Regions from separate parts of the Homo sapiens genome. Here region 1 is linked to region 2. Evidence: promoter capture Hi-C in human tissues and cell types (Jung and others, 2019). All regions are on one chromosome and are shown on one strand. The core of a region is centred on a gene start or on the middle of the fragment in contact, and the rest is flanking DNA. Distances in the headings are between cores, read along the strand shown. Region 1 overlaps BANK1 (B cell scaffold protein with ankyrin repeats 1). Region 2 holds the start of BDH2 (3-hydroxybutyrate dehydrogenase 2).

Region 1 (3,294 bases), core at 193-2,692, 1.1 Mb before region 2:
GTTTGTTGCATAGGTATACATGTGCCATGGTGGTTTGCTGCACCCATCAACCCGTCATCTACATTAGGTATTTCTCCTAATGCTATCCTTCCCCTAACCCCCCACCACCTGACAGGCCCTGGTGTGTGATGTTCCCCTCCCTGTGTCCATGCGTTCTGATTCAGCTCCCTCTTATGAGTGAGAACATGTGGTATTTGGTTTTCTGTTCCTGTGTTAGTTTGCTGAGAATGATGGTTTCCAACTTCACCTATGTCCCTGCAAAGGACATGAACTCATTCTTCTTTATGGCTGCATAGTACTCCATGTTGTATATGTGTCACATTTGCTTTATCCAGTCTATCATTAATGGGCATTTTGGTTGGTTACAAATCTTTGCTATTATAAATAGTGCTGCAATAAACATGTATGTGCATGTGTCTTTATAGTAGAATTATTTATAATACTTTGGGTATATACCCAGTAATGGGATTGCTGGGTCAAATGGTATTTCCAGTTCTAGATCCCTGAGGAATCGCCACACTGACTTCCACAATGGTTGAACTAGTTTACAGTCCCACCAACAGTGTAAAAGTGTTCCTATTTCTCCACATCCTCTCCAGCATCGTTGTTTCCTGACTTTTTAATGATCTCCATTCTAACTAGCATGAGATGGTATCTCATTGTGATTTTGGTTTGCATTTCTCTAATGACCAGTGATGATGAGCTTTTTTTCATATGTTTTTTGGCCACATAAATGTCTTCCTTTGTGAAGTGTCTGTTCATATCCTTCACCCACTTTTTGATGGGGTTGTTTGTTTCATTCTTTTAAATTTGTTTAAGTTCCTTGTAGATTCTGGATATTAGCCCTTTGTCAGATGGATAGATTGCAAAAATTTTCTCCCATTCTGTAGGTTTCCTTTTCACTCTGATGATAGTTTTTTTGCTGTGCAGAAGTTTAGTTTAGTTTAATTAGATCCCATTTGTCACTTTTGGCTTTTGTTGCCATTGCTTTTGGTGTTTTAGTCACGAAGTCTTTGCCCATACCTATGTCCTGCAGGGTATTGCCTAGGTTTTCTTCTGGGGTTACATTTAAGTCTTTAATCCATCTTGTATAATTTTTGTATAAGGTGTAAGGAAGGGGTCCAGTTTCAGTTTTCTGCATATGGCTAGCCAGTTTTCCCAACACCATTTATTAAATAGGGAATCCTTTCCCCATTGCTTATTTTTTCGAGGTTTGTCAAAGATCAGATGGTTGTAGATGTGTAGTGTTATTTCTGAGGCCTCTGTTCTGTTCCATTGGTCCATATATCTGTTTGGTACAAGTACCATGCTGTTTTGGTTCCTGTAGCCTTGTAGTATAGTTTGAATTCAGGTAGCATGATGCCTCCAGCTTTGTTCTTTTTGCTTAGGATTGTCTTAGCTATATGGGCTCTTTTTTGATTTCACATGAAATTTAAAGTAGTGTTTTTCTAATTCTGTGAAGAAAGTCAATGGTAGCTTGATGGGGATAGCATCGGATCTATAAATTACTTTGGGCAGTATGACCATTTTCATTATATTGATTCTTCCTTTCTATGAGCATGGAATGTTTTTCCATTTGTTTGTGTGCTCCCTTATTTCCTTGAGCAGTGTTTTGTAGTTCTCCTTGAAGAGAGGTCCTTCACATCCCTTGTAAGTTGTATTCCTAGGTATTTTATTCTCTTTGTAGCAATCGTGAATGGGAGTTCACTCATGATTTTGCTCTCTGTTTGTCTGTTCTTAGTGTATAGGAATGCTTGTGATTTTTGCACATTGATTTTGTATCCTGACACTTTACTAAGTTGCTTATCAGCTTAAGGAGATTTTGGGCTGAGACGATGGGGTTTTCTAAATATACAATCATGTCATCTGCAAACAGAGACAATTTGACTTCCTCTTTTCCTATTTGAATACCCTTTTTTTCTTTCTCTTGCTTGATTGCCCTGGCCAGAACTTCCAATACTATATTGAATAGGAGTGGTGAGAGAGGGCATCCTTGTCTTTTGCCTGTTTTCAAAGGGAATGCTTCCAGCTTTTGCCCATTCAGTATGAAAATGGCTGTGTGTTTGTCATAAATAGCTCTTATTATTTTGAGATACATTCCATCAATACCTAGTTTTTTGAGAGTTTTTACCATGAAAGGGTGTTGAATTTTTTTGAAGGTCCTTTCTGCGTCTATTGAGATAATCAAGTGGTTCTTGTCATTGGTTCTGTTTATGTGATGGATTATGTTTATTGATTTCCATATATTGAACCAGTCTTGCATCCCAGTGACGAAGCCGACTTGTTCGTGGTGGATAAGCTTTTTGATGTACTGCTGGATTCAGTTTGCCAGTATTTTATTGAGAATTATTGCACTGATGTTCATCAGTGATATTGGCCTGAAATTTTCTTTTTTTGTTGTGTCTCTGCCAGGTTTTGGTATCAGGATCATGTTGGCCTCATAAAATGAGTTAGGGAGGACTCCCTCTTTTTCTATTGTGTGGAATAGTTTCGGAAGGAATGGTACCAGCTCCTCTTGTAGAATTTAGCTGTGAATCCATCTGGTACTAGGCTTTTTTTTTATTGTTAGGCTATTAATTACTGCCTCAATTTCAGAACTTGTTATTGATCTATTCAGGGATTCGACTTCTTCCTGGTTTAGTCTTGGGATGGTGTATGTGTCCAGGAATTTATCAATTGCTTCTAGATTTTCTAGTTTATTTGCATAGAGGTGTTTATAGTATTCTCTGATGGTAGTTTGTATTTCTGTGGGATCAGTGGTAATATCCCCTTTGTCATTTTTGATTGTGTCTATTTGATTCTTCTCTCTTTTCTTCTTAATTATTCTGGCTAGTAGTCTATTTTGCTAATTTTTTAAAAAAACCAGCTCCTGGATTCATTGATTTTTGAAAGTTTTTTTGTGCCTCTATCTCCTTCAGTTCTGCTCTGATCTTAGTTATTTCTTGTCTTCTGCTAGCTTTTGAATTTGTTTGCTTTTGTTTCTCTAGTTCTGTTAATTGCGATGTAAGAGTGGCGATTTTAGATCTTTCCCACTTTCTCCTGTGGACATTTGGTGCTAAAAATTCCCCTGTAAACACTGCTTTACTTGTTTCCCAGACATTTTGGTACATTGTTTCTTTGTTCCCATTGGTTTCAAATAATTTATTTATTTATGCCTTAATTTCGTTATTTACCCAGTAGTCATTCAGGAGCACATTGTTCCATTTCCATATAGTTGTGTGGTTTTGAGTGAGTTTCTTAATCCTGAGTTCTAATTTGACTGCACTATTTTCTGAGAGACGGTTTGTTATTATT
Region 2 (3,575 bases), core at 14-2,513:
TAAGGCAGACTCATTTCTGGGAGACATAGACCTCCTCCCCAACGGATGACTGGCTAGAGAAGCTCCTTATTACCTTGCTGAAGTTCTCTTAGACTGCACAGCTGTCTGGGATGCTTCCACTCAACCTGGTTTCCTTCTTTTCCTCCCTCGCGGGTGGACTTGCATCGAGGTCTGATGGCTCTCACAGCCTTACCTAGTTCTCTCCTCATTCTCTCTCACAACAGCATTTCCCCTAATAAAATCCATGCATATTTAATTCTATCTTGGAGTCTGCTTCTTGGAGGAGCAGACTAACACAATTATGTAAGAACTGGCTCCAGGGATCAGCTTATAATCACTGACTTCCTCTGAGTTTGTCCACATTTTTTAGGCGATGGGGAAGCTTGGCTTTAACAGTGCCTGACCTACTTTGATGCAATGAATTTTTGCTTTTTTACTTCTTACACAAAAGATAAACATGGAATGTTTATCATTTCAACATGGAATGACAGTTTCTAAAGTATAACTTTAGAAAGATATACTTTATCCTCCTTGAATCCTAAGCATGGTGCACAAAAGCTATTTTACAACACTGTCATTAGTGATATTGGGTGTATGGCCCTGTAAAGCCTCCAGTCAAAGGTTTTGCTAGGAATCTTTGCCAACCGAAGAAGCACTTCCAGAACAAATGCCGAAGCACAGAGCAGCCTTTCTATGCACTCTGAAAACCTCCTCTTAGCTGGCCTTCCTGTCTTTCTGGGACCAGATTTTGGGGTCAAAGCCTTAACATTTGATAAACTGTAATCTCAAACTAAAACAGATTTCTTTGAGAAAATGAGAGCAAACACGGCCTGAAATGGTAAAACAAGGCACCTCTCAATATATCCAATGTGAAAACCATACATGTTGGCTTCCTTAGTCCAAAAGTTAGAATCAAAATGTTGATTTTTGATTAGCAGAGACACAAACAGCATATTCAGGAAGCCATTGTTTTCAAGAGCCAGGAAGAAAACTCTTCACTTAGGATACCGTAAGAATCCTTTTTTCTTGGGCTACTTTATAAAACATACATACCACAGAGTTTCAGGCTCTTTAAAAACCCATCTTTACACTGATCTAACTGCTCAGATTAATTTTGAAACAGGCAACGTGCAGAAAAAAACAACATCTAAAAATTAAACCTCCCCTCTTTCCGTTCTAAAGTTTCATTTCAAAAGTATTAGGAAATCTTACTTTAAGCAGCGAGCTGATGGCGTTCTCCAGAACTCGGTTTGAGCAACAAACTTGAGACAACCTTTGTCTGGAAGCAAGTCAAGCGCTTAATAATGCATGCTGGGATTTGTAGTTTCCCTGCTTTCAGAGTTTAGTGGCTCCATCCATACACTTTATAAATGTATGTGCTGCCATCTAGTGGAATTCAGGTAGAACTATGAATTCCAAGTGGAAGGTGAAAAGTGGAAAAGCACCTTAGAGCTTACTTAGGATGCGGAAATCATTTCCTTCACTTCAGTCTCTCCACTTCTCTGTTTTGTTTATGCCTACTATATGCGGTGCCAGGGTAGACGAGATTGGCTGAGCTGGAAACTGCGTGTGGAAGATAGCAGAGCAACAAAATAGAGGGAACCCAGGTCACTGAAAATTCTGGAGCCTTCCTGTCACTTGGCCTGGATTGTTTTAAGGGAGAGAAATAAAAAAAAAAATCCTTTTTGTTTGAGATACAGTTGTGATTTTTATTTTTTCATGCTCAGAATATTCTAACACTAATGCACATTTAGTGGCAGAATGCCAGGAGCCTTTTACTACACTGGGAATGGGGTTGGGGAGAACGTGAAACTTGGATGACAGGGTGGAGGCTTAAAAGGGAACATGTTAACAGCGAAAAACCCCAGTTTGGCTGAAGAGAACAGAGATATAAGGTCAAAAAGAAAGGACTAGATCTCATGAGCCCTCTAGGTTAGGATAGCAACATGTGCTTTATCTGTAGTGCCAGTGAGCAGAGTGATTGTGTAGGCTACTTGTACATGTACTGTATAAATTGGTTTCCTCAGCACCCATCCAACTCACTTTCCCCTTTTTTCACTTGTCAAAGCTGGAAAACAAAAGTCTCTACTTCATAGCCTTGTTTGCTGCTAGGGGTGGCCAAGCAGCATAGATGTTGCCAATGAAATGCAGGTGGGAATTTCTGAGGAGGGCCTCCTTCTTAAATAGAAAAGTAAGCCCTTCTGAAAGGCTTTTAGCTTTTGCTCCTCCCTTTCTTTTTGCCTGGAATGAAGATAGGATGCCGTGGGACAGAGCAGCCATTTAGTGAGTTCATCTGAGGCCAGAGGCACACATTAACGACAGGGACCAGCAAGAGAAGGAGCCTGCGGCCCTGATGACAGCCTCAAGGCAACAACTCCTCTGGACTTCTTATGTGAGGACAATAAACTTTAGTGTTTTTCACGTTTTTTGTTACATGGAGCTAAGTGATTTCTAACAGTCACAGGGGATAAGAACAAAGACTGTGGCGTCAGTAAGACTAGAGCAAGTCCCATATCTCTCTCTCACTAGCTAAGTGAGTAAATCACTTAAATCTCTGAACCTCTTATGTTTCTCATCTGTAAAATGAAGGTAAAATAGCACCTACCTCAGGGATGTGGTGAGGAGGAACGACTAAGCCTGTGAATCCATCAGCACAATGTTTGCCACACAGGTGCTTAATACATGTTAGTGATTCTTATGATGAAGACATTGTTGGAGAAATTTAATTATAATGGATGGTAAAAGTTGCGCTTTTTAATGTTCTTTTAAAAACTGGACTTAGTTTCTGCATGTGTCTATATGAGGTCTATGGTAAAATTGTCCCTCCTTGTTCATTGTTTCAGCAACTTCTAATGCTGGCTCTAACAATCTGTAATCACATCTAGCTTTGTTCCTGCTTTACTAATAATGCCCTTTGACTTTTGAGGCTTTTGGAACAGACTTTATGAGAGTTCTCTAATCAAAGCCAACTCCAATGCTTCTTGATGTAGCTTTCTTCAGCATCCCTCTGTAATCTTCAGCAACAATGCTTACTTGATAACAGCCTAAGTCACATGGTATTGCAAATACTTGCTTACCCATTAGTATTCTCAGCAGACTAAATTTCTTCAAGGGTGGGGACTATGTTTTACACCTTTACATTGTGATTAGCTCGTATTAAAAGAGTATTAGTTACTTGTTTTCTTATCTACAATATGAGTTCCACATTGGTAGTGCCTTTCAGTGCCTAAAACAGTAATTGGCAGATAGTAGATGCTCATTAAATATTTGCTGAGTGAATGGCAGTTTCTTAATAAGTTTCCTGAATATAATTCTGCCAGGCTCTCAAGACAATGTTTGTGATAATTAATTTTAGGTGTCAACTTGACTGGATTTACGGATCCCCAGAGAGCTGGTAAGCATTATTTCTGGGACATCTCTGAGTGTTTCTGGAAGAGATCGGCATTGGAATCAGTGAACTGGGTAAGGATCTACTTCACCCAATGTGGGCAGGCACTATCCAATTGGCTGAGGGCCCAGATAAAACAAAAAGGCAGAGAAAAGGTGAATTCTCTCTCTTCCGGAACTGGGACATC

Evidence for each region. The method cuts DNA at HindIII sites, captures the fragments that hold promoters and counts their contacts. A contact is called where the count stands out against the background at its distance.
Region 1: a fragment that was not itself captured here is called in contact with the fragment with the promoter of BDH2 in region 2 in 1 of the 25 tissues and cell types used here (aorta).

The regions. Positions count from the first base shown.
Region 1 is chr4:101,995,003-101,998,296 of GRCh38, forward strand. All of the region lies in intron 7 of BANK1 (B cell scaffold protein with ankyrin repeats 1), which reads left to right. Among named protein-coding and RNA genes, the nearest start is that of BANK1, 210 kb to the left of the region's middle. The HindIII fragment of the contact is 6,310 bases long and covers 1-3,294 here.
Region 2 is chr4:103,098,571-103,102,145 of GRCh38, forward strand. BDH2 (3-hydroxybutyrate dehydrogenase 2) reads right to left here and starts at 1,264. Exons shown (of 10, transcript NM_020139.4): 1 at 1,213-1,264. The HindIII fragment of the contact is 9,040 bases long and covers 1-3,575 here.